Linked DNA regions of Homo sapiens: all the other regions are linked to region 4. The links are contacts of gene promoters, found by promoter capture Hi-C in blood cells and fetal thymus (Javierre and others, 2016). All regions are on one chromosome and are shown on one strand. Each heading gives the region's core, a stretch centred on a gene start or on the middle of the fragment in contact. The rest is flanking DNA. Distances are from core to core; before and after follow the strand shown.

The links. The method cuts DNA at HindIII sites, captures the fragments that hold promoters and counts their contacts. A CHiCAGO score of 5 or more calls a contact.
Region 1: the fragment with the promoter of YPEL4 here is called in contact with the fragment with the promoter of PATL1 in region 4 in 1 of 17 cell types (activated CD4 T cells); the score reaches 5.6 in activated CD4 T cells.
Region 2: a contact is called between the fragment with the promoter of TIMM10 here and the fragment with the promoter of PATL1 in region 4, in 5 of 17 cell types (naive CD8 T cells, total CD8 T cells, non-activated CD4 T cells and 2 more). The highest score is 8.4, in naive CD8 T cells.
Region 3: the fragment with the promoter of ZDHHC5 here is called in contact with the fragment with the promoter of PATL1 in region 4 in 5 of 17 cell types (naive CD8 T cells, non-activated CD4 T cells, fetal thymus and 2 more); the score reaches 9.3 in naive CD8 T cells.

The regions. Positions count from the first base shown.
Region 1 is chr11:57,647,888-57,654,598 of GRCh38, reverse strand. YPEL4 (yippee like 4) reads left to right here and starts at 4,687. Exons shown (of 5, transcript NM_145008.3): 1 at 4,687-4,914. It overlaps MIR130AHG (MIR130A host gene), which reads right to left. Exons shown (of 2, transcript NR_186232.1): 2 at 1,698-4,301. RefSeq lists an enhancer at 6,176-6,315. The HindIII fragment of the contact is 14,007 bases long and covers 1-6,711 here.
Region 2 is chr11:57,529,411-57,535,980 of GRCh38, reverse strand. It overlaps TIMM10 (translocase of inner mitochondrial membrane 10), which reads left to right and starts at 5,227. Exons shown (of 3, transcript NM_012456.3): 1 at 5,227-5,323; 2 at 5,747-5,862. The coding sequence starts at 5,792. RefSeq lists an enhancer at 5,048-5,227. The HindIII fragment of the contact is 3,024 bases long and covers 5,054-6,570 here.
Region 3 is chr11:57,665,977-57,672,854 of GRCh38, reverse strand. It overlaps ZDHHC5 (zDHHC palmitoyltransferase 5), which reads right to left and starts at 4,741. Exons shown (of 12, transcript NM_015457.3): 1 at 4,668-4,741; 2 at 1-834. RefSeq lists enhancers at 4,040-4,109, 3,663-4,300, 4,301-4,940, 5,110-5,689 and silencers at 4,220-4,419, 4,670-4,909. The HindIII fragment of the contact is 3,116 bases long and covers 4,151-6,878 here.
Region 4 is chr11:59,665,794-59,672,569 of GRCh38, reverse strand. PATL1 (PAT1 homolog 1, processing body mRNA decay factor) reads left to right here and starts at 3,533. Exons shown (of 19, transcript NM_152716.3): 1 at 3,533-3,689; 2 at 5,606-5,717. The coding sequence starts at 3,675. PATL1-DT (PATL1 divergent transcript) reads right to left here and starts at 3,260. Exons shown (of 4, transcript NR_187296.1): 1 at 3,028-3,260. RefSeq lists enhancers at 2,984-3,273, 3,200-3,494 and a silencer at 3,454-3,803. The HindIII fragment of the contact is 2,400 bases long and covers 2,753-5,152 here.

The sequences.
Region 1 (6,711 bases), core at 3,438-5,937, 2.0 Mb after region 4:
TCCTAACCTCAGGTGATCCACCTGCCTCGGTCTCCCAAAATGTCGGGATTACAGGCGTGAGCCACGGCGCCCAGCTCTTTTCTCAGTTTTAATCTTTCACCAAGCACTCCTGCCATCTCCACCCCACCTCCAAACAATACCGTCATCATATGTTCTTTTTCTCCTCTCCAGCTAGATCCTTGATCATTTTCTTTTTGCTTCCAAACTTTCTTTCTTTCTTTCTTTCTCTCTCTCTCTTTCTTTCTTTTTCTTGAGACATAGTTTCGTTCTTGTTGCCCAGGCTGGAGTGAAGTGGCGCAATCTCGGCTCACTGCAGCCTGCGCCTTCCGGGTTCAAGCAATTCTCCCGCCTCAGCCTCCCAAGTAGCTGAGATTACAGGCGCCCGCTGCCATGCCCAGCTAATTTTTGTATGTTTAGTAGAGAAGGAGTTTTGTCATGTTAGCCAGGATGGTCTTGAACCCCTGACCTCAGGGTCATCTGCCCGCCTCAGCCTCCCAAAGTGCTGGGATTACAGGTGTCCGGCCTGCTTCCAAACTTTGAATCCGAGCTGGGCCCAGTGACTCACGCCTGTAATCCCAGCACCTTGGGAGGCCAGGGTGGGTGGATCACTTGAGATCAGGAGTTCGAGACCGGCATGACCAACATGGTGAAATCCCGTCTCTACGAAAAATACAAAAATTAGCCAGGCATGGTGGCACATGCCTGTAATCCCAGCTACTCAGGAAGCTGAGGTGGGAGAATCACTTGAACCCGGGAGCCGGAGGTTGCAGTGATTCTCGATCATGGCATTGCACTCCAGCCTGGGAAACAGAGCGAGATTCCATTTCAAAGAACAAACAAACAAACAAACAAAACAAAAGAACTTTCGATCCATGCCTTGAAAACTAATCATTTGCCTTTTCCCACTTCTCATTGTTCTCCTCAACAATTGCTTTTCAAAATCTTTTTTTTTCTTTTTTTTTTAAATTTTATTATTATTATACTTTAAGTTTTAGGGTACATGTGGTGCACAACGTGCAGGTTTGTTACATATGTATACATGTGCCATATTGGTGTACTGCACCCATTAACTCGTCATTTAGCATTAGGTATATCTCCTAATGCTATCCCTCTCCCCTCCCCCCACCCCTCAACAGGCCCCAGTGCGTGATGTTCCCCTTCCTGTGTCCATGTGTTCTACTTTTATCTCCCCTCTCTTCTGCTGCCCAAACAAAAGCACTTCTCTCTTCTTTCTTTACCTAGCTTTTTCTCTCAATTCCAAATCTCTAGTACTATCCCTCAAGACACCCACATTGTCTTTTCAGAATTTACTTTAAACCCCAGAATCTTCCCTGATTAAATATTTAGAATCCCTTTTTATTTTCATGCTCAACTAGCAATGTCTCCCATTACCCACATTTCTCTGCCTTAACTTTTTTTTCCCTCTTTACGTGTGAGAAGAAAAACAAACCACCCCCAAGCACTGCTTTCTAGAAGTCCCTATCTTTGTCGTACTTCATTTGCTAAATGCTAGACTCTGTTAGAAATCAGGGTTTTTGTCTTAGGGGATATGTTCTGTGTTCACATACTTTAGTAACATGCACAGGACAGCACCCCATGAGAAATGAATTCTGAGTCAAATGAAATTTAACTGGAAGCTGCTAGAAAAATAGCAACAAAAGATGTAATGTCTTCATAAGACAAAAATTTGGCATGTGTCTCTTGAGATATCAGAATTTAATAATAAATCCTCCCTGGGTTTTGGGGGTCATACATTGAGAATGCTGTTTTGGTTTCACTTTTGTTTTTTTGGTTTTGTTTTTTTTTTTGAGACGGAGTCTCTCTTTGTTGCCCAGGCTAGAGTGCAGTGGTCCCATCTTGGCTCACTGCAACCTCCGCCTCCTGGGTTCAAGCGATTCTTCTGCCTCAGCCTCCCAAGTAGCTGTGATTACAGGCATACGCCATCACACCTGGCTAATTTTTTGTATTTTTAGTAGAGAGGGGGGTTTCACCACGTTGTCCAGGCTGGTCTCGAACTCCCAACCTCAGGTGATTCGCCTACCTCGGCCTCCCAAAGTGCTGGGATTACAAGGTGTGAGCCACCTCACCCAGCCAAGAATGCTTTTTTTTTTTTTGAAACAGAGTCTCGCTCTGTCACCAGGCTGGCGCGATCGGCTCACTGCAACCTCTGTGAGTACAGTGGCGCCATCTCAGCTTACCGCAACCTCTGACTTCCTGTTCAAGCGATTCTCCTGCCTCAGGCTCTCGAGTAGCTGGGATTACAGGCACGTGCCACCATGTCCAGCTAATTTTTGTTATTTATTAGGGATGGGGATTTCACCATGTTGGCCAGGATGGTCTCGATCTCCTGACCTTGTGATCTGCCTGCCTCGGCCTCCCAAAGTGCTGGGATTACAGGCGTGAACCACCGCACCTGGCGAGAATGTTGTTTTGAAATGACACTACTGTTTACTGCCTATCATGTGCCAGGCATTTTTCAGGCATTTAAATGTTATCTCACTTTATTCTGCATCTCCATGAGCTAATAATAATAAATATTATTAGCTTCATTTAGCAGAAGAGTAAGACTAAGGCACAAAGATTATCAGTAATTTGCCTAGTGGTTCCTGCCAAGTAATTGGCAGAGCTAAGAGTCTAATTCAGTCTCTTTGAGACCAAAGCCAGACACTTGGTTCATGTCTGAAGATGCAACTCAACTGCTCTATTAATCAGAGTTCTCTAGCGGGATAGAACTAATAGGATAGATGTATATATAAATCAGAGTTATTACGGAATATTGACTCAGATGATCACCAGATGAGGTCCCACAGTAGGCTGCCTGCAAGCTGAGGGGCAAGGAAGCCAGTCCGAATCCCAAAGTTGAAGACCTTGGAGTTCAATATTCGAGGGCAGGAAGCGTCCAGCATGGGAGAAAGACGTAGGCTCAGAGGCTAAACCAGTCTGGTCTTTCCACGTTCTTCTGTCTGCTTTTATTCTGGCCTAGCTGACAGTTGATTACATTGTGCCCATCCAGATTGAGGTGGGTCTGCCTTTCCTAGTCCATTGACTCAAATGTTAATCGCCTTTGGCAATACCCTCACAGACACACCCAGGAACAATACTTTGCATCTTTCAATCCAATCTAGTTGACAATATTAACCATCACCAGTCCACCCCTTGTCAACTTGAACCCATACACGTCTCCTGAAATCATACATGATCTTCAAATAAAGACAATAATAAGGTCATAATTACGCTTAACATAATACAGCTATCCTTTGTACAACCGGAAACGCACCAATCCCCAACCCAAATGCTATTACATAGAGTTAACAACACTTAAGTGCTGATATCAAGTCAGTAAGTCTTATGTCACATGATAAAGGCAAAAGAAAGGAAATAAAATGAAGATATTTTCTTAATACAAGTGTATATATGCACAAACATGTTCCTAACAAAAGGAGGAGGAAATACTCATGACAATTACAGTCCTCATTTTCTGCAGCTGGTCACATGGTCATAGTTCGTATTGATGACTACCTTCTTTGACTACCCATTCTGAATTCCGTTTGCCTTCAGCAAGCACCTCAGCAGATTATGTTTTTTTTACCTGGTGGAGTGACCCAAACCTTCATTCCTGAAGGGTCTGGGCCATTTGTCATCCTGCCTGGATTGGGCTGTTGCAGTTTCCCATTGACCTTAATCACAGGGCATGGTAATATTAAGAGACGCCCTACGTGATCTCCTGTATTCCACGCATACTTCCTTACCGCCATTGTGGAGTAGTAGACTGATTTCATCTTGATAGTCTGGGTCAAACACTGTAACTCCCTTCTTAGCAAGTTGGCTTAAAAGTAAGAAGAGCCCAAAGTGGCCAGGTGGCAATCTTAACTTCCAGTTTAATGGAATCATTGTTGTGTCTCTTGGTGGCAGCATTCCTCCCTCTGGAACTAAGACCTCTAGGCCAGCAGAACATAATGCCGCGGAAACAACTGCTATTTTGGAAACATCTAAATGCACGGGTCTGCACTGGACATTGCAGTCCTGGGATGTAGAGAGTAATTTCCCAGAAGGCCTGTCTCAGGAAGTTTACAGCCCAATAGAGAACTTCATATAACGTAGGTGTCTCCATTCATGAAGCACGCATAATATGGAGGTAGCTGTTAAGGGGTTCCTGCATGCAAAATGTCACATTGGGTCTATTACTCCTTCAGGAGTATTAAACCAAGGCTTTGAGGCTTGGTACAAGTTTGGGGGCACAGTTTGCCATCCATGACAATTAGTACATCTGTCTTTTCCCTGCTTCAGGGCTGGTGTCCAAGCTGAAATGGGAAAGTGTATCATCTTAAATGTGTGTGTGCTCCCTCACTCTGCATCCATCTCTTCCTTCACCAGCCTTGCCACCTCCTTTCCTCCAGCCCTGCCACCCTCACTGCATCCTTGCCCAGCCCTGTCCTTCCCCCAGGTTCTTCGTATCTCCTTGGCCCCACTGCCTTCCTCCTTAACAACCTGCCTCTCCCCTTGCCCACCATCGCCGCCTTGTCCCTCGGCCCCCACTCCTCTAGCCCCGTCCCTTGATGCCTACCCCCTCCCTTCCTTCCGACCCGCCTCCTGTGTCTCCCAGCCCTGCTCTGACGTGGGAGGTGAGGGGGGGTGGGGGGGATGGATGACTCACAGTGTTATGATGCAGTTCCACAACACACAGCCACATTCACCCACAGACCGAGGTACAGAACGAGAGACAACCTCTGCCCCCCCAGCAGCTGGCCAGCTTTGCAGCCCCAGTCTTGAGCCCCCAACTACCCTCCCCCCACCCACCCCCATCCCCTTCCCAATTGAAGGAGCGGAAAGAGAAGAGAGAAGAGTGAGCAGAGAGATTGAGAGATTGAGAGAGAGAGAGAGAGATAGACGGAGATCTCTGGAGCAGACCTCAAGGTGAGGGGGCAGCCCTTCTCCAAATGAATTTTTTTCTCTTTGCAAATTTCCTCCTCCTGCTGCGTGTTGCTTTCTCCCCTTTGCAAAAGCATTATTCATCCACCCTTTGTCCTCCCTTCCCCCTCCCCGCTGCCTCCGCTCCTCTCTCTCGGTTCCTCCATCCCTCTCCAAGCTCTGACGATTCCCGCACTTATTTCCCGGCAACTTTGGCTGCAGCATCAGGCATCACTGTTTATTGTTTTGCTGCTGGTGCAGACCCCCAAAGCCTGCCCTGGGAGCTGGCGGTGCTGCTAATTATTTGGACCATACCATACTGAGAATACCAGCCTGGGGGGTGCCAAAACCTCAGAGCAGATGAGAAAATCCATTGTGAGCAGGTGTCCCCCCCCTTTTCTTTTCCCCCCTGAGAAGCACGAGATTCGCACCTGGTTCCTCCAGCCTCCGCCTCGGCGCCTCTGCTGTCAGCTGTCAGTTGCCCCCGCCAGCCCTCCCTCTCCCCTTTCTCCTACGGTCCAGCCCCGTCTCACTTCAGGGGAACATCTCTCCCCAGCACTCGGCTTGCCTTTGTTTTTTCTCCAGTCATTTGCCCAACTTGCTTCTCCCTGTGATCCGAGATGGGTGAAAAAATGACCCCTACTCCCCTTTGTGATTCTCTGGCCTTCTGTGCAGCCTTTCCTTGGCTTGACTGGGAATTAGGGGAGAGGGAGGGAGGCGTGACGGCCGGAGGCTGGAGAAGGAGCTCAGGATTGGGGACCCAAGCTGCCCCATTCTCCATGCCCCTTGAAGAAGGTGTTTCAAGGTGGTGCATGTCAGAGGGGAACTCGCTGGCAAAGTTGAAGGCAAACCTGTGAAGCAGAGACTGAAAGGTGGTCTCTTGGCAAGGAGGGCCCGTTTCCTGCAGCCGGAGCCCAATGTCACCCTGAACTCAGCCCAAGGTGTCTTCCTGGGACCCAGCCCGGAGGAGAGGACCTGAAACTGAAGATAGTCTCTATGGAGGTTTTGCGGAGAGACTGCCTGGCGGCCTTCAGAGAGAGTGGAACAGCTGGGTGCCTGTGGCCACTGCGGAGGACAGGACGAGGAGAGCCTGTATGCCCTGGCTAACCAGAGCCAACACTGCCTCTTCTCTGCTTAGTGCTCTAGCATTGCCAGAGTGCCCAGCTGGCATCTCTGAACCAGACTTAGGCTAACCACCCACAGTGGGCTGGGAAGCCCTATGAAGGAGAAAGCAGCAGCTCACCTGCTTATCGGAGCCAACAGGGGCCACCTCCCTTCTTATCCTCTGCCTCCAGCACCTTCAGCCACTCGGAGGCTGGCGCGTGGGCAGAAGGCAATCTTCCTCTATTCCTAATCAGAACCCAGCAATTACTTCATCTTCAGTCACCCACAGAGTCACTGCTGTTTGTCCCTGCCCCTGGGAGAAGGTAGAAAGAAACATTTTCTGCCTTGTGCCCCAAAGCACAGCTGTTAAAAATAAGAGTCCCCCTTCTGCTGTTCGTTGTGGCCGTTGCTCTCACCCTACCACACAGCCCTGCCCAGCCCAGGAATCAGGCTCCTCTGACATGCTACCCATTTCCCATTGGCTCCAGCTGTCAGATTGCCTGAAGAAAATGTATTTTCTGCCTAAGTCTTTAACCAAGGGCTAAGGCAACAGTTAGTAAAGACTAGGAGAGAGAAAGACCAAGGGGCCCACAGGCTGGGAAGACAGGCAGGTGCTTATTCTGGGCCAGAATGAGTGAACCAAGGTGCGAGAATGGGCGGCCACACGTGAGGGCTTTGGTACTGTTGGAAACATCTATA
Region 2 (6,570 bases), core at 3,978-6,477, 2.1 Mb after region 4:
CCAGCCGGCTCTAGTAATACTTGAAACCCGGCTGGGATTATAGGCATGAGCCACCATGCCCAGAGTATTTTGCTCTTTTCAATATCTAATGACAGTAGGATAAGAGAAATGAATTTAAACAAAAAACCAGCAAGCCAGAGAGAGATGTGGAAAAACTCGCCAATCTTGGGCAGATATACTCTGGATGGATGCTGTTTTGAGAATAAAGTGAAGAAGCATGGATAGAAGTGGGGAGAGCAGTCAGGAGACAAACTCAGTGACCCTGGTGCAGGATGGTGGTGGCTTGGACCACAGTATCAGCCATGGAGGTAAGAAGAAGTGATGGGAAACAGTAATAGTGCAGACAGTGATTAAGCCAGGGCCAGCTTTTTCTTCAAGTGAATAGAATGACGTAAGCCATTTCATCACAAGGGAGGTTACAGGAAACCTCTGTTTTTGTATTCTCTGCACCTCTCATGAGTGGTCAGGGCCCACTTGAAGTGATTCTAGATGAAAACTCTGCATCTCTTCTTCTGGGGCTGGGGTCCCACCCAAGAGGACAATACTGACCCACGATGAATGACAAATATACAACTCACCTTTGCAAGGTTGGGAAGGGGTAGAATGCAGGGTAGAATGAGGAGCCAGAGTTTCAGCATGGTGTTGACAGAGATCAGTAGCTTTGGATGACATATCTGGAGTCTAAGGATATCTTCAAAGTCTGAGGCTATCTAAACTGTCTTCTACAAGAAGCAATTCAACTGGGACCATTGGAGATTCCTACCTGTAGGTCTCCACATAGAGGAAAGACACAGTCTCATAGTAAATAATCATAATAACAATAGCATCATCATCAATAAGAGCAATGGTTTTCCAGAGGCTGAGCAGCTGGGGAGATGGAGAGTTGCTGTTCAATGGGTATACAATTTCAGTTATGCAAGATGAATAAGTTCTAGAAATCTGTGTACAATATGGTACATATAGTTAACAATACTATTTTGTGCACTTAAAAATTTGTTGGCCGGGCGCGGTGTATAAAGCACTTTGGGAGGCCAAGGCAGGTGGATCATGAGGTCAGGAGACTGAGACCATCCTGGCCAACATGGTGAAACCCCATCTCTACTAAAAACACAAAAATTAGCTGGGTGTGGTGGCATGCGCCTGTAGTCCCAGCTACTTGGGAGGCTGAGTCAGGAGAATCCCTTGAACCTGGGAGGCAGAGGCTGTAGTGAGCGGAGATCGTGCCACTATCCTCCAGTCTGGTGACAGAGCGAGACTCCGTTTAAAAAAATTTTTTTTGTTAAGCAGGGCCCAGTGCAGTGACTCATGCCTGTAATGCCAGTGCTTTGGGAGGCTGAGGCAGGAGGATCGCTTGAGGCCAGGAGTTTGAAACCAGCCTGGACAACATAGCAAGACCCTATCTCTACAAAAAATTTTAAAAACCACTCAGGCATGGTGGCTTGCGCCTGTAGTCCTAGCTATTCAGGAGGCTGAGATGGGAGGATTGCTTGAGCCCAGGAGTTTAAGCTAACAGTGAGCTATGATTGGGTCTCTGCACTCCAGGCTGAGCGACAGAGACCCTGTCTCAAGGAAAAAATAAATAAATAAAAGGGCTTTATCTGTTAGAGATAAAAATAGATGAAGAAAATATGGACAAATGTTAACAATTCCTAAGTCCTGGTGATGAATATATGGAAGCTCAATGTCCTGTTCTCTCTGCTTTTCTGTATGTTTTAAATATTCCATCTGGGCATGGGGTGGCTCATGCCTGTAATCCCAGCACTTTGAGAGGCCAAGACAGGAGGATTGTTTGAGCCCAGGAGTTTGAAACCAGCCTGGGAAACATGATGAGACCCTATCTCTTAAAAAAAAAAATTAGCCAGGCATGGTGGCTCATGCCTCTAGTTCCAGCTACTTAGGAGGCTGAGGTAAGAGGATTGCTTAAGCCAAGGAGTTCACGATTGCAGTGAGCACTGATCATACCATTGCACTCAAGCCTGGGTGACAAGGCAAGATCCTGCCTCAAAAATCCTAAGTAAAAATAAAAATAAATTTGCCCCAGTGAAAGTTTAAAAATGAAAAAGAATGAAAACAATGATTTATTTTTATTGAGCATCTACCATGGACTAGGTACTTTACTTACACAATCTTTTATATAAATATTTTTCTTTCTTTCTTTATGGCCAGCTCTTACTCATACTTGTATAATCTTATTTGTTTTCTTTTTTGTAGAGATTTTTAAAACTTTTTATTTAGAAATAATTATAGTTTCACAGGAAGTTGCATTAATAGTACAGAGAGGTCCTGTACGCCCTTTACCAACTTCCACTAAAGGTTAAATCTAACATAACTATATTCAATATCAAAGCCAGATAATTTATATTGGTACAATGTGTGTGTGTAGTAGTTCTATGACTTTTTTTTTCTTTCTTTTTTTTTTTTAGACCGAGTCTTGCTCTGTCGCCCAAGCTGGAGTGCAGTGGCACAATCTCGGCTCACTGCAACTTCTGCCTCCCGCCTCCCGGGTTCAAGCGATTCTCCTGTCTCGCCCTCCTGAGTAGCTGGGACTATAGGCGCATGCCACCACACCCGGCTGATTTTTTTTATTTTAGTAGAGACGGGGTTTCACCATGTTAACCAGGATGGTCTCGATCTCCTGACCTCGTGATCCACCCGCCTCGGCCTCCCAAAGTGTTGGGATTACAGGTGTGAGCCACCGCGCCTGGCTTTTTTTTTTTTTTTGAGACGGAGTCTCACTCTGTCGCCTGGGCTGGAGTGCAGTGGCACGATCTCGGCTCACTGCAACCTCCACCTCCCGGGTTCAAACGATTCTCCTGCCTCAGGCTCCTGAGTAGCTGGGGTTACAGGTGCCCGCCACTACCCCCAGCTAATTTTTTGTATTTTTAGTAGAGACGGAGTTTCACCAACAAGGCTGGTCTCGAACTCCTACCTTGTGATTCGCTCGCCTGGGCCTCCCACAGTGCTGGGATTACAGGCGTGAGCCACCGCACCCTGCCAGTTCTATGACATCTTATCACCTGTGTAGATTCTTGTAACCACCACCACAATCAGGATACAGAATTATCCATCAACACAAAGATCTCTCTTGTGCTACCCTTTACAGGTACACTTCTATCTCCCCATCAACCCTAACACTAGACAATCAGAAATCTCTTCTCCATCTCTATAATTTTGTGATTTTGAGAATGTTACTTAAATGAAATCATACAGTATGCAACCTTTCATAAGGCCCAGTAGATATTGCAAGATTCCTCTTGTAAGAAACCATCTCCTTTTCCCACGCAGTTTCTTAACTTTCCATAATGTTTCTTTTTTGCGGGGAGTGGGGGGTCGGAGTTTCACTCTTGTTGCCCAGGCTGGAGTGCAATGGTGCGATCTTGGCTCACTGCAACCTCTGCCTCCCGGGTTCAAGTGTTTCTCCTGCCTTAGCCTCCTGCTTAGCCTCTTGAGTAGCTGGGATTACAAGCACCCGTCACCACACCGGGCTACTTTTTTGTATTTTTAGTAGAGATGGGGTTTCACCAAGTTGGCCAGGCTGGTCTCGAACTCCTGACCTCAGGTGATCCACCCACCTCAGCCTCCCAAAGTGCTGGGATTACAGGCGTGAGCCACTGCACCCGGCCAATGTTGACTATATTTTCAAAGGCAAAAACCAAGGCAAGATATGTCCATCTGTACAAGAGTATCATAGCAGCATTATTGCATAATAGGCAAAAACTGGAAACAATCCAAACATCCACCAACGGGAGAATGGATAGATGAATTGTGGCATACTCATACAATCAAACACTAGACAGCAATAAAACAGAAGGAATAACAGATGCACACAACAATATGGAGGAAATCTTACAGGTACATTGAGCTAAAGAAGTCAGGCACAAAATAGAAAATAATGTATAATTCCATTTACACGAAGTTCAAGAACAAGGAAAACTAATTGATGGTGATAGAGGTCAGAATAGTGGTTAACTTCGAGAGGGGGTATTGATGGGGAAGGAACACAAGATAACTTTTTGGGGTGCAGGAAGTATTTTATATCTTGATCTGGATGGCGGTTATACAAATGTACATATATAGATACATATATATTTAATTAAGCTTAACATTCGTGTATTTTATGCACTTTATGAATGTTATACCCCAATCTTTAAAAATCAGGGCACAAGTTTGGCAAAGATGAGTCTTCAAAGCAGTAGAAAGGTCAATTGTTTAAAATTAGGATGGTCTTGGACAATTAGGGAAGCTTATGATGACCACACAGAAAATGTCTAGCCCACCTTTTCCAATGGGCAATGTGCCCTTGCGTCATTAATTTACATCTTGTAAATTTATTTTACCAGGAAATTGTGTGACAAATCAAGGGACTGAGTATTGTTTCCTTGTTTCCTTCTTTTTAGTGGGGAATGAGTGAATGGTGCAGTTTGAAGAACACATTAAGTCTTGAAAGTTGGAAAGTTCACCAGTACCCTTCTTTCCCTCACCCAAGATTAGCCCTGGTGGCAGCCGAAATTGCTTTTATTATCTCTTTGTGGCTGAGGACCTCTAACTGTTGAAGAAAACATATTTTACACGTCTTGTCTTTCTGCGAACAGGAAGCCTATCTCGCTTATCTTTGCAACCCCAGACGGGGCTTAGTGTGACCTACACACAGCAGTAATCGCACAACGTCCCGTGGAGCACTGCTTCTCAAATTTGGCTGTACATACGAATCACCTGGGGAATTTTAAATTGTATTGCTGCCTGAGGAATTTTAAACTGTACTCCCAGAGATTCTGATTTAATTGAAATGAGGTGAGTCCTGGGCACTGGGATGTTTAAAAACGTTCCAGGTGATTTTAACGCGAAACAAAAACAGAACCGCTGTTTGGGGGCGTTCTTCCTTCTCCACGCCTGATTTGCGCACAGGAGTCGGCTGTCTGGAACGGGGGTGAGGTTCACAGGTGTCTGTCGCCACGCCTCTTCCTACAGAACCAATAAACTGAAGCCGCTCGGTGACATCCCAAAGGACTTGAATTCTGATCGGGCTGCAGACGCTCTGCACCCCGCCCAAGCTTCTATGGTACTTTGGTGTCCTCTCTAGCACTGGCAAGTCGCCTTCCTCTTCGCCCGGCGCCAGCCGCTCCCTCTCTATGATCGCCGAGTTCCCGGCGCCGTCTCGTTGGTATTTAATTCCGGAAGCGAGTTTGAATCAAAGAAGAGGCGGGACTTTCCTCCCGGAAGTAACCCACGTGCTTCCGCTGGAGCCTCTCGGGAGGCGGGTAACGTTATAGTATTTGTCAGAAGTTGGGGTCTCCGTGGGCATTGTGATCCGTCCCAGGCAGTGGTAAGTGACACATGACCTCTGAATTCAATGTGGCCCTGATGATGGCGTCGCCATTTCAGAGGTGTAGCCTTTGGGCTGGGTCCCGGTCGCCTCTGTTCAGCGTATGATCCCATTCCCAGGGCCCTGGAGGTTCAGGTTCGTGGGTTAGAGAGTTCTCCTCCGGTCCTCGATCTCCTGAATAGAGGTGACCTCCAGGAACTGGGGCATCAGAGATCCGGGGCTCGATTTCCAGGCTCGCCATAGACGTCCTGTGCGACCTTGGGCTAGGCCTCAGTTTCCACATCCGTGAAATGGGGTGGTTAAGCTCACTGAGGTTAGTGGCCCGTGGTGGTCTGGCGCCCTGTGAGTCCTCTGTATCCTCTAGCCCCAGGGGTAGGAGAGTGAACGGCGGCGGTGGGTGCTGATGGTGATGTCTGCTCCCAGGATTAGGAGGCCAGAAGGAGATCCCTTCCACGGTGCTAGGCTGAGATGGATCCTCTCAGGGCCCAACAGCTGGCTGCGGAGCTGGAGGTGGAGATGATGGCCGATATGTACAACAGGTAAAGAGAACTATGTGCTACCCTGTCTTGGAAAATAAGTCTTGGTCACCCTTATCGAAGGTGAATGACTTATGACAAATTCCTTCCTGAATGTAGGGGAGCCTGAGGCCCATGCTTACCCTCCCCACACCCACCTTCAAGGTTGATCCTAATGTAGATGCAGTAAAGGGTCACTAGAATGAGTTGGGCATTTAGATGGGGATGGAACTGGCAATGCAGGAGCCAAGCAGGAAGAGAAACTCCAATCCAGGCTCTGGTTAGGTTCCAAGAAAAGCTGAGTATTTGCCTCTTGACAAATAGCACATAGCCAGCCCATTTAGTAGTTAACATTTTAAAACCCTTTATTCTGTGTCAGGCACTTGTTAATCTTCAAAATAATCCAGTGGGTTAATTTTATTAGTCCCGTCTTAAAATGAGGAAATTGATGATTCTAGAGGTTAAGTAACTTCCTTAGGGTCGGCAGCTGGTCAGTAACAATGCCAGAACTAGCACCTCAGTCTGATTCTGCAACTAGTGCTCATAACCATTTGGCAAATTTGGGAACAAATCCTGGCTCCACCAATCACCAGCAGTATAATTGGACATGTTACTTGCACTGTTTGACAATTGGTTTCCTCATTATGAAGAAGACATAATGATACCTACCTCATAGGACATCATAAATATTAAATCTAAAAATATATGAAAGCCCTTAGCCTCAAGCCCAAC
Region 3 (6,878 bases), core at 3,492-5,991, 2.0 Mb after region 4:
CCAGAACAAGGCAGAAGGGAAGATTAAGAAACACAACTTGTACAGTTTAAAAACTGGAGACAAACAGTAGGCTGTACACATGCAAATGGTTGCAGGTGGAAAACATGGACAGTCAGACAGATCAAGATACAGCTCATGGATGGAGGCAGGTCTTCAAAAGAAGGAGAGAATATCAGGGTATGGCAAAAAAACTTTGGGCAAAGAAAAATTCTTCTGAGATACTATAGTACCTCCACGACTACAGTTCCATAAAATGTGAGCTGCACCTAAAAGAGGTGTGCCCTGTGTTTCTATTTCTATTTCAATCCAAGAAGGAACCTGAGGCCCCTTCCAACTTTAAAGAGGAGCTTTGTTTACTGCAGTCTTTGTCTCTTTTAGGTAGTCTTCTCAATGCCACCACTCCCACACCCTGACTTCACCAGGGCTTGTAGTCTGGCAATGGTGGTTTAATTTATTTCTCTCTTGATGGCTAAAGCTGGACAACAGCTGTTCTAAGTTTGAGCTGTAAATCCTTTTCTTTGAAGGGGCAAGGAAAACAGGGCAAGCTTCTCTGTCTTCAATCTCTTCTTGTTATTCCCAAGCCCTTTAAGGGCTCTGTTTCCTACAAAGTTCATGTAAAACTAAAGGGAAACTTAAAATCCTTGAAGCCATGTTCTTCCCAATAGGCAGAATAAGATGAAGAAATCAATTCCAATTGATGACACTTCAAAAGTTTACTGTGGATGAAAACGAAGTTCCAAAGATGTCCCTGTTTCCAGACTAGTCAATGTCTCTTATCTTTCTTCAGTCTTCAGCTTTCCAGATGCAGAGTTCAACCAGGTTACTGTGTCTCACCTGGAGAAAAACAAGTATCTTTATCAGAGAATTCTTTCAGGGTATTTCTTAGACACCAAGGCTAAAATTCCACAGGCTGCTGTTAAAAAGTACTTTCTGAAAGAAAGACTGTTTTCCATTTCACTTACATGTATGTGGGTAAGAAGGGACTCTGAATTCAGAGGAAAACTGACTTGAGAATCCTTTGCTCTGTTCAGATTGGAAGCAGAACATGGCTTCACCTGGCCAAAGGACATCAAAGGACTAGCTCTTGTAAGGGGCCCATCTCACCTGACATAGATGGTAGTAACAAATACCAAGAATATCAAAATCACAAACAAGGGCACAGCAGTGAAGGGCAGTCCTAGAACAAAGATTTCTCTTTGGACAAGAAGAGTGTTTATTGTTATAGTGAAAAAAGAAAAAAATTAACCTCAAAATTAGGAAAGCAAGTCTCATTTTCTTTCTCTGTGTGTTTCTTTTGCTCCTCTATGCTTTTTAGTTACAATCCTGAAGAGGTAGAAGCTGAATTTTTGGTCTTTTGGAATCACCCATTAGAACACTGGGTAAGAAATGTTCTTGCAGAGAAAGCCATGATGCCCTCTATGAGAAACTGAATAAGCATAGCATAGGGTTGGTTCTTTTTTCCCAATTCAACAGTTTATTATTCCTATATTGGCCTAAGGTAACTGAGCCCCACCTGCCCCAATATGATTAAAAGTAACAATTATTTCTGTTGATGACAATAACAAACTAACACCAGCACCTTGGGATTTTATAAAATGCTTTTCATCTGGTGATCTAAAAGCACTTTACTCACATTATCTGGTGACGCAGTCCCTTATCCCACTCTTTAAAATTGAAGGCTACAGAATGCCCGAGGACATTCCACTGAATCACCTCAGGTTCAGAACTCAAGAGGTCACATGCCCCTCTGGTGACACAAACCCTTTCTACCTTTTCATCCACTACCTGCCCAGAGATGATAACTTGGAATCTGCAAGCCAAAAATTTTAAGTTAGAATTTTAAAAGAAAGTAGTTTTATTCCCTTCTCTACTAAAAATACAAAAATTAGCCGGGCGGGCGCCTGTAGTCCCAGCTACTCAGGAGGCTGAGGCAGGAGAATCACTTGAACCCAGGAGGCGGAGGTTGCAGTGAGCCACTGCACTACAGCCTGGGCAACAGAGCAAGACTCTGTCTCAAAAAAAAAAAAAAAAAAATCAGAAGATTCAGATAACAAAATATAAATGTGCCCTATAATGTACCACTTCCTCTCTCACCTATGGCATGGAAGGCAAAGGTGCCTTCCCTTACGATTCATTTCTCTCTTTAAAATTAGGGTTTCAGAGGGCCAAACAGCAGTATTAGAATACAGTGAGCGCCAAAAGATTCTAAGAAACTGTTATAGTCCTAGAAAACATAAATCCTCTCTAGTCCCTGATTTAATGATTATTTAACTCTCAGTTTCCTACAGGAATGGAAGCCTAACATTTGGAATGTAGGCCTCAGTAACTTTGTTAACAAAAGCAAACTCTTGATTTGTAGACAATATGTACTTTTTTTTTTTTTTTGAAACACAGTTTCCCTCTGTCACCCAGGCTGAAGTGCATGGTGTGATCTCAGCTCACTGCAACCTCCGAGTCCCGGATTCAAGCAATTCTCCTGTCTCAGCCTCCCGAGCAGCTGGGATTACAGGAGGGCACCACCACACCCAGCTAATTTTGTATTTTTAGTAGAGATGGGGTTTCACCATGTTGCCCAGGCTGGTCTCGAACTCCTGACCTCCAGGTGATCTGCCTCCTCACCCAAAGTGCTGGGATTACAGGTGTGAGACACTCTGCCCAGCCAATATGTACTATTAAAGCAAACTTTTCCCTCAAAATCCCAAAGACTAGAAAAGATGGAAAATTATACTACTTAAATTTTATCTAGAGTAGAATATCATTTAGATACTATATATTGTTTCATATATTTTCCACAGGAAAAAAGTCACATGGACTAATATTGACATAGTAATACAGAGTCATGAAAGGCCATGCAATTTTGGGAGTATAATACTGGGAACACAAAAGAGAACAGCATCTGAGATGCTTGGGGGCTACACAGTAGAAGGGAAATCAAAAACCTAACAATTTATTGGGTATAAATAAAGATGAACCAATTCTTAGCAAAAGAATGTGCTGCAGATACTAGGATGAAACCACAAGGGTGAGTATGGTTCATCAGAGTCAACAGTTTGAATCCATACTAGTATCAAAAAAGTATACAAGAATATGTATGCCAGCTGGGCACGGGGGCTCACGCCTGTAATCCCAGCACTTTGGGAGGCCGAGGCGGGCGGATCATTTGAGGTCAGGAGTTCGAGACCAGCCTGGCCAACATACCAAAACCCTGTCTCTACTAAAAATACAAACAAATGAGCAGGGCGTGATGGGGCATGCCTGAAATCCCAGCTACTAGGGAGGCTGAGACACGAGAATCGCTTGAACCCGGGAGGTGGAAGTTGCAGTGAGCCAAGATAGCAGCCACTGCACTCCAGCCTGGGCGACAGAGCCAGACTCCGTCTCAAAAATGAGAAAAAAAGTAATATGTATGCCATATTGAGGCACAGAGTAAACTATGAAATGGAAATATGTATATGTAAAACAAACAATACAGGATATGTGGTTTGAAGGCTTTAATAAGGTTTAATACAGGTATTTCCTTAAATAGGTGGATACCAGCAGTACCAAGGACAACACAACTATTTTTTGTTGAAATAAGCGGTGTAACAGTACAATAGAGTAAATCTAAATGCACAGTAATGGAGGTACCATGGAATAATTCACATGTCAAGGTATGGGAGAAAGAGCCAAGAAGTTTAATGTGGGTGTTATCATTATATACCGAGGTAGCAAAATACATGGCAATATAATTTTGTAAACATTAAGTTTATACAATGGGTGATAATGAGCATTCTGAAGATATTTGATCCAGGACAGAGGTATACTGAGATAGAAGGATGATATGCAAATGTTAGATCAACTTGGTCAAGATGGCATTAACCAGGAAGTGAAGAATCCAAGGCAAAAAATAGTCTAGCGTATAACGTATATGTGATCCTACAACTGCCTTCCTAACTTTTAGCAACTTTCTTACTTCTTATTTCAGTGTTTCATTTGGCCAAGTGGGTAAAACACTTTCCACCTGCCTGCCCCAAATATAGGTAAAATATTGACAAACGCATTCGGGCTCCACTTTAAAAAGTACAAAGTACTAAACGCATGGAGCACTCGGCTGGTGGCGGTAGGAGGAGGAAGCGGACGGGTGAGAGAGAACAGGTAACAGGATGAAGCTTGAGCCAAAATAAGTATCAGCAGAGTGGAGCGAGGGACTCGAACCGCAGAGCGGTAAAAGGGAAACAGCACCCGGTCCCCACCACGGGACTGGGGAAAGGAGAATCACCCGTTGGGGCAGGGCTGACGACCGCTGAAACCGAAAAGAAGGAATCCACGGCGGCCAGGCCCACCGAGGTTGAGAGAGCGGGCTGCGGGGACCGCAGAGCCCGAGGGCGCAGGGCCGGGGGCGGAAGGGGCGGCGGCTGGGCGCCAGGCACCGGGGACCGCGGTCTCGAGCTGAGTGGCCGTCTCTAACCCGTTCCGAGCCCTGGCGGTCGTGGATCCCCGGCCTCTACTCGTCGTCCGTTTCCAAGGCCCATGGGTCCCGCCGCGGTTGGAAGACCCGGCCCGGAGGAGAAATAGGGCCTTAATACCCTCCCCGTCTTCGGTCCCCCTTCCCTAGAGGTCACCCTCCCCTCCCACCTCGCTGGTACGGCACTTCCGGTTCCGCAGGGACCGGTGTCCTCCGCACTCACCCGCGAGCCCGGTGCCCGTCACCACCGCCGTCGTTGTCACCGCCGCCTCCCGGCAGTGCCGTCCTGCCTCAGAGAAGCAGCGCGCGGCCCCCGCACGCTCCACGCCCGCCCCGCTGCCGCGCGCTCCCGCCAGGCGTCGCTCGTCTCGGAGCCGGCGCGCGGCCGTTGCCCTCAGTGCCGGGTCTCGAACCCTTCCAGCGTTCCCATTGGCTCCCTAGTCCGGGCTCGCGCGACGTCTCGCGCGGCGCACGTTTGTCTCATTCATGCGGCTCGCGCTGCCGCGCCCAACCCCGCTCACTCTCCCATTCACCCATAGCCCCCACCCCGACTCCGATCTGGGGCGTGCGCGCGAACCCTGGCGACCGCGGCGACCTCGCGGCCTGATTGGCTGCAGCAACACAACGACGTACGCACGCGAGAAGACGAGAGCGCGCACGTAAGGCCGTGGGGTTGCGGGGACAACTAAGAGACAAGGATTGGCCTAATGCACAGGAGTCAGGAATGAGGAAATGGCCAGGCGAGTCTTCCCTTCTCCTGCGTCCTGTTGTATTCCCACTGAATCCAAGCAAAAACCCCCGGAAATAAGAAAAGAATTATGTGTGTGTACTAGAAGTACTCAAAAGCAAGCAGCTACCTTCTCGAATTCAGCAACCCCTCTCCTACTGAGGTGGTACAGTCCAGACAGGCTTCCAGCGCAGCCAATTACCGACGACTATCGCCGCTTCCTGCTTCAGCCCCTTCGCGGCGGATTGGCCAACCATTTGGCGACTAGGCCTCCCTCTTCTCCTTCCCATCTCCTTTTTTTTTTTTTTTTTTTTTTTTGATGGCAAAAACTTTATTTAAAACAATCTTGCTGGAGAAATCTTCAGTCCGGCGAGGTCGCTGGTCCGGGCAGAATCCAGGGCGATGGAATGGTCTGGGCTGTGTCTCCCACATGAAGGGGACGCCCGGACTTGAAGAGCCAATGTAGGGCGAGGCTCCTGCCAAGGGCCGGGGAGGGAGATGAAGAAGAGCAGGCGCCAGCCTTGGAGCCGTAGCGCTAACCGTGAGAGGGAAGCCTAAGGAGCGCGCGACCTGAGGCGGTGGCAGCACCCTCCCGCCCCCGGAGTGCGAGCCGGGAAGTGAACTCCCTGAATTCCATTAGTTTCCCACTGTCACACGTGGGATGGGCGCCCGCATCCCTCACCTCACCCAATCCTAGAATACAAAGCTAAAAGCAAAAGGTTCTCTAGAATAGCTACTGTCCCTGGCGAGCTAACTCTGCATAGGTCATAGTGCTACGCTTTGCCCTGATTAGCCCAAGACAGCTGTGAACCCAATAGCAATGCCCCATGTTCTCTCCCCATTCGGCTCGAGGCTATTTCTTTTTTCGAAAGCAACTCTAGCTATTACATAATGGTCCCTCAAAAAGGTGTTTCACAAGCCACTTCCCTGAAGCCGAGGCCCCTCACCTGTAAAATCCTGAGGACTGTCCTCGGGTTTGGTCTCAAATGTTGCTGGCTTTACTGTGGTTCTGACACTAGCATTAGGCAGTAAGGTAAAAGAGAACTACCTTCTGTTTTCTGGAATCTAGTTCCTTCTCTGACATGGCATATATTATAAGTTCTAGTTTATTCTTGTTAACAGCGTCAATCCAGCATTTATTGCAACACACTTGAGAGTTCTTTATAACGACTTTATATTTTTAAAACAGACCTGGCCTGGCGTGGTGGTTCACACCTGTAATCCCAGCACTTTGGGAGGCCAAGGCAGGCGGATCACGAGGTCAGGTGCTCAAGACCAGCCTGGCCAACATAGTGAAACTCCCTCTACTAAAAATACAAAAATTAGTCGGGCATGGTCGGGGGAGCCTGTAATCCCAGCTACTCGGGAGGCTGAGGCAGGAGAATTGCTTCAACCCGGGAGGCAGAGGTTGCCGTGAGCCGAGACCACACAACTTCACTCCAGCCTGGGCAACAGAGCAAGACTCCGTCTCAAAACAAAACAAAAACCTCTTTAGACCATATGAAAGGTAAATTATTGAAGATACAATATTGATATTTTATTTTTTACTTTTTGAGAGGGAGTCTCACACTGTCACCCAGGCTGGAGTGCAGTGGCGCGATCTCAGCTCATGGCAACCTCCTCCCGGGTTCAAGCAATTCTCATGCCTCAGCCTCCTGAGTAGCTGGGATCACAGGCATGTGCCACCACACCTGGCTAATATTTGTA
Region 4 (6,776 bases), core at 2,284-4,783:
CTGTCAATAACCTTTCCCATGTACTTGGCATGCAGGAGACACCTCCCTTCTCCCACCCACTCAAGGGACAGTTCCCAGAAACATCATACTTTATGTCTAAAGAATCACTTGTGAAAAGAACTTGTACCTTTTCCATCTTAATAATGGGCCTATTAGCAGCTCAAAAAAAACTATATATATATATATATATATATATATATATACAAAAAAAACCATATATATATATATATATATATATATATATATATATATATATATAGTTTTTTTTGAGATGGAGTCTCCCTCTGTTGCCCAGGCTGGAGTGCAGTGGTGTGATCTCAGCTCACCACAACCTCCACCTCCCAGGTTCAAGCAATTCTCCTGCCTCAGCCTCCCGAGTAGCTGGGACTACAGGTGGGTGCCACCATGCCTGGCTAATTTTTGTACTTTTAGTAGAGACGGGGTTCCACCGTGTTAACCAGGATGGTCTCGATCTCCTGACCTCGTGATCCGCCCGCCTCGGCCTCCCAAAGTGCTAGGATTACAGGCGTGAACCACCAGCACCCGCCTAAAAATACATTATTCTTTTAAAGGGACTTTCAATCTCCCTCACAGACAGGTGTTGTATAAGAGGAAATGGGAAATTTTGTTGATCCTGTCTATGACACTTTGTTTTCTGCTCCTTTAATTCCTGCTCTACAGCATTTCTTTCCTTGTACTTTCTTTGGGTTTATTTTATAGCTAATTTATATTCAGGCTTCCCTATTTTCGTCCTCAGTCTCCCGAGTAGCTGCTGGGACTACAGGCACAGGTGCACACCACCACGACCAGAAATAATGCAGAGCAGCTAATAAAACAACTAACCCAGCTAATTTTTGTGCTTTTTGTAGAGTCGCGGTTTCGCCATGTTGCGTAGGCTGGTCTCCAACTCCTGAGCTCATGCAATCCACCCACCACATCAGTTGTAACTATTTTCTGCTTTCCATTATTTAGTCATTGAATTGGAGGGGTTTTTTGGTTTTTGTTGTTGTTGTTGTTGTTGTTGTTGTTGTTTTTTGAGACAGAGTCTCGCTCTGTCACCCAGGCTAGAGTGCAGTGGCGCGAACTCGGCTCACCTCAAGCTCTGCCTCCTGGGTTCACCCCATTCTCCTGCCTCAGCCTCCCGAGTAGCTGGGACTACAGGCGCCCGCCACCACGCCCGGCTAATTTTTTTGTATTTTTAGTATTTTTAGTAGAGACAGGGTTTCGCCATGTTAGCCAGGATGGTCTCCATCTCCTGACCTCGTGATCTGCCCGCCTCGGGCTCCCAAAGTGCTGGGATTACAGGCGTGAGGCACCGCGCCAGGACTTTTTTTTTTCTTTTTTAATTTCTGAAAACTTAAGACTTTTTTCCTAATCTGTTTTTACTATTGATATCTTACATAATGATCAGAAAACATGATCTGCAAGATCAGGGATCAGCAAACTCTGTAAAGCGCCAAATAGTAAATATGTTACACTTTACAGGCCACACTGTATCCATTGTAACCACTCAACTCTGACTTTATAACATTAAAGCAATCAAAGACAATATGTAAATAAATAAGGTTGGCTGTATTCCAATAAAGCTTGCTTTACAAAAACGGGTGGCTGGCCAGATTGGACTGTGGGCCATAGTCTGCTAACCCTTGATCTACATGGCACCAATTCTTTGGTAATTATTAAGATGTACTGCTACTTAGTTTTTTTTGTTTGTTTGTTTGTTTTTTGTGAGACGTAGTCTTTGCTCTGTCACCCAGGCTAGAGTGCAGTGGTGCGATCTCGGCTCACTGCAAGCTCCGCCTCCCGGGTTCACGCAATTCTCCTGCCTCAGCCCCTCGAGTAGCTGGGACTACAGGCGCCCGCCACCACGCCCGGCTAATTTTTTGTATTTTTAGTAGAGACGGGGTGTCACTCTGTTAGCCAGGATGGTCTAGATCTCCTTGACCTTGTGATCCGCCCACCTCGGCCTCCCAAAGTGCTGGGATTACAGGCGTGAGCCACCGCGCCTGGCCTGTTACTTAGTATTTGATGTTTTATAATGTTCCATGCATGCTTGAAAACCAATAAATCATCTTGTCCCGACGCTCCACTTCTTTAAAGTTCAGGCCTGGCCCATGTCAACATTTGCTTTTGTTATTCTGGCACAGTGATTAAGACACTCGGTTTTTAATAATCAGACAAATCTCAGCTGCTAGCTTTACCACTTGCCATTGGGTGGTTGGAGGCAAACAATGTCGCTAATCCTCAGGTTCCTCAACTGTAAACTGAGAAAATAACAGTACCTACCTCATGGGGGGCACATAAGGAAGGATTCAATGAGATAATCCATTTTATAAAGCGCCTAGCAGAGTCCCAGGCAGCCTTCAATCGTTAGTAGTGTTACCATCATGAGGCAGGTGTAATTATACCCATTTTACAAGAAACTAAGGCTCAGAGAGGTTTAGGTAAGTTGCCCAAAGTTTCCTAGCCAGTGGCAAAGCACAAGCTCCCACCCAGAACTTTTCTTCACAAATTCAGCGTTTCCGATACTCAAACTGATCCAGACACACTAACATTTAGGGGATTTACTGTATGCCATTCCGAGACGAGGCTGCATTTTAAGACGCCCAGGGAAGAAACGGATTGCGAAACCCAAAAGAATTCATTCTTTGTGCTGCAAGTTTTGTCTGAAAGGAAAGGGGCAAGAAGGGCATGGAGCGTGCTAGAGGTAACAAACCACCCAACAGAATTCTGGAACCAGGGGGCCGAAGCTTCTAAGCTGGACACATTCCTCTGTGGGTTCGATCCTCTAAGGAAGTGGAGTCACCCAGCGGCGCACCACGGCCCGAAGACCCTGCTGCTGCGTGGCCAGCGGCCCACGGCCGTGCGGCCCTTCGAGGCTCTGCAGCTCCTCGCGCCTAATGAGCCTGGCGCTTAAAAATACCACCCTAGTTAAACCTCCCGGAACCTGTCTTCAGCATTTCAAAAAAAAAAAAAAAAAAAACGGGCGCCGTCATCACTTTGAGCCACATAAATCACAGCCCTGACCTGCTGTGGATTCAGCAGGCGACGAGCCGCTGAAAGTGGCGACGAAGTCCGCCCCTTTCGAAGACCAGCAACTTTCCATTCTTTTTTCCCTGCGCAAGGCGCAGATTGCAACGGGGAGACCCCCGAGCAGCCTGAGGAGTGAGTCGGACGTTGGAAAAACTGCCCGGGAATCTCATCTTTCCCAGCCCAGGCTAAGCGCAGGATTCTTCAAAGCTATATCCTGTGACAATCACAAGGGTTTTCTCCGCCCCACGGGTGACGGAGAACTCGTGACCGGCCCCTGAGCTCCAAGCCGAGCGCCTAGAGGGCGCGGAGAAAGAGGGGGCGGAGCTACAAGCCCAGATCACCAGGCAGCCGAAGACGGGCAGCGCGTGCGCAGTCTCTCGCCACGGGACCTCCTTCCCGCCGCTGAGACTAGGAAGCGGGACGCCAAATCTGTCCCTGCGCAGCCGCCGCCGCCGGGCGCCGAGCGGGGTGGCCGCCCTGCCTGAGGCGCGCCTGCGCACGTCCCCACGCACGCTCCGGCGTACGGCGGCGGCCAGGGGTCGCGAGCCGGTGGAGGACCCGCGCGCGGAGGAGCCGGGGAGTCAGCGCTTCTTCCCTCCCTCCCCCTCTCCCCTCCCCGCTCCCTGCCCCCCTCCCCAAGAATGTTCCGCTACGAGGTGAGCTGTTGCGACCGGAAGTGACCCCTCCCTCCCTCCCGCGCCCCTCTCCCTCACTCTCTCTCCGCGCGCCGGTCCTGTGTTCCTGCGGGGCAGGGGGCGGGCTGGGGGAGTCGCAGGACTTAGCTGGACGCGACTGGTCTGGGGTCGCGGGTCTAATCCTAGGGCTGGGAGCTGGCTTCATGGGTCGAGACAGTCCCATTAGTTGCCGCTGGGGAAAGTTGGCCTCCGTTTTGGGGTGGGGAGGGCCCGTTAAGTGCTGTAACCAGACCACACCCCCGCCCCCACCCCTAGAGGAGCCACGGAGGGTAGAGCACTGCATCTCCCCGGGTGCTTTTCTTAAGTAGGTGTCACCCGGGAATTCCCAGAGCCGCGTTTCCCGCCCTGGACCCGGAACCACCCCCCACCCACCTCCACTCGAATTACACTGACACACATCCCATTCACACAGGCTACCTTCAGGTGAAGGGGGCCTGGGCTTGCCGTTGGATTAGGGCCCCAGCCCGTTTACTAAAGAGGGCTCCGAGTTGGGAGGGGGGCGTGTCCTGCAGAAGTTCCTTCTGGGCTAGTGCTGGGAGACGCGGGTTTGGAGAAGGTGCCGGGAATGTAGCAATAGCAGCAGACAGTACTGACCCTGTCACCAACTCACTGTGTGACCTTGAGTGACTCCTAATCTCTGGACGTAAACTTTCTGAATTTGTAGCATGAAAGAACTGATGTAAATGATCCTTAAGAATTTTTAATTTAAAAAAGCAGCGATTTGGTAAAGTAGATATTTGTGATTTGGAAGGGAGTACTGCTGGAAGTTGCCTCTGATAAGGAGGCAGTGGCATGCCTATTGGCATGAGTTTGGAAGGGCTCTGGGGTAAGAAGAACGCCCTTTGACCTAATCTTTCCATTGTAAACAGGGTAGCTAAGAGGTAGCCAGGCAAGGTGTATCACAAACGTACCTACTGATAGAATATGGAATTCTGATTCTGAATTTTTGAAAATTGAGGACAGGTATACTTGATAGGAATGATCTAAGACCAAACCAAAAGGAAAACTTGGAGAATAAATCAGTTGAGTAAGATTGAAGTAAAGGGGGAAAATAGAACACACCTAGGATGTGGTGGCCTCTAGCCTTTGTTCGATAATCTGTAATCTTTGCCCACTTTGATCATCACAACTCTCTGCCATAGTTGGTATTGTCCCTGCATTACAATGTAAGACATTGAGCCTTACAGCCTAGCACAGAACCTTAGACGCAATAGGTCCTTAAAAGGTATTTGATGAATTAATTAGAAATTTTCTGAGTTGCCCATGTTCACACTGATTGTAGGAATGGAGCCAGAACTTGAACTTGTCATACCACAGCTTTTCCAGAGTTCATTTTATTGTGGTTGAAGACCTAATTTTCTGTTTCATCACTAGAGTTTAGGCCTATAGGGAAGATAAGAAAGATGGAAAATGAAGACAAAGCTTTAAAACGGAATAATAGTTGAAAAGATGACATGAATATAATGAGAAAGATGAGAATTTTGCTGGAAAAGATACATAAAGATACAAGAAAATAAAGGGTTCATTATTAATTGTCATCAGTATTCCAACCAGTGATGTAAGGAAAGTTGTGGGCTTAATTTCTTGGTTGCATGAGGAACTGCTGTTCGTGGATTCTTGATAAAATAGAGAAATGGAATGCTGTGAGGTGGGGCAAGAATTAAATGAAATAAGGATTAGGAAATAGAAAGTGAAAGAAAGATGATGAAATCTTCCAGTGTCAGGGAAATTGGGAAGTAGAAAAAAAATGCCATCTTTACAAAAAGTCATAATGAAGCAATTATGTTCATTGAGAAGGTAAGATGAACATTTTTAGAACATTTTTAAAATGAGGGTGTGAATTTCATGAATAACTAATGTCTTTTCTTTTTTTTTAGTCTTTGGAGGATTGTCCTCTGGATGAAGATGAAGATGCATTTCAGGGACTGGGAGAAGAAGATGAAGAGATTGATCAATTCAATGATGATACATTTGGGTCAGGTGCAGTTGGTAAGTGACATCTTTCGCTTATAATATCATCTTAGCCTCCTGCTCTTTTCAAGTGCTGTCTTTTAGAAGTGCTTTATCTTATTAGGGGTAACCTTATTCACTAACTTGGCAAGATATTCTTCTATTCCTCATCTTAGAATAGTTCATTCTTCACTGGAAACAGCACCTATCCTGCTCCTCTGGGTCTCTTTTTGCCTTACCTATAAAATCAGGTATTCTGTAAGCCTTGCCCCTTCCAGCTATATGATCGATGACTACAGGTTGCCCCTATGAGGGATTCAAATGTTTAGAGAAGTAAACATTTAAGAGAGATTTAAATTAATCCTAGATGAGAGGAATTTTTATTTGTATAACATATAACTTATGGAAAACTAGTGTACTAGTAGAAAATTCAGATTCTAGGATGTGGGTATATGTGTTTCAAAATTTAGTCTATCACTAGTATATAACTTTGCAACTTATAGTATCTTCAAAATATAAAGCTTTTTATAGCAAGAATTTTGGGGGTCAAGAAAGGACTCATAAGTTAGAAAAGTATGCACAGATGAAATTTTGTCCATCCCTGGGTATAGATACATATTATTTATTTATTTATTTATTCTTTTTCGAGATGAAGTCTTGCTCTGTCACCCAGGCTGGAGTGCAGTGGCACGATCTTGGCTCACTGCAACCTCCGCCTCCTGAGTTCAAACAGTTCTCCTGCCTCAGGCTCCCGAGTAGCCGGGATTACAGGTGCCCGCCACCACACCGAGCTAACCAGGCTGGTCTCAAACTCCTGACCTCGTGATCCGCCCATCTCGGCCTCCCAAAGTGCTGGGATTACAGGCCTGAGCCACCGCGCCCAGCCTATAGATACATATTTTAAGAGTTGGAAAAAGTTTAAAAACTGAAGAGCCAAACTAAGGTTACAGGCCACGGGGTTATAAATGCCAAGATGGAAAATTTAGGAAGTAAGCTTATATGATAAAGTTTGAGAACACATGTTACTTAGAACAGGTGTAGAACAAGTGGAGTAATAAATTGAAATTTAAATTTTTAAACTGTATACATACACATATA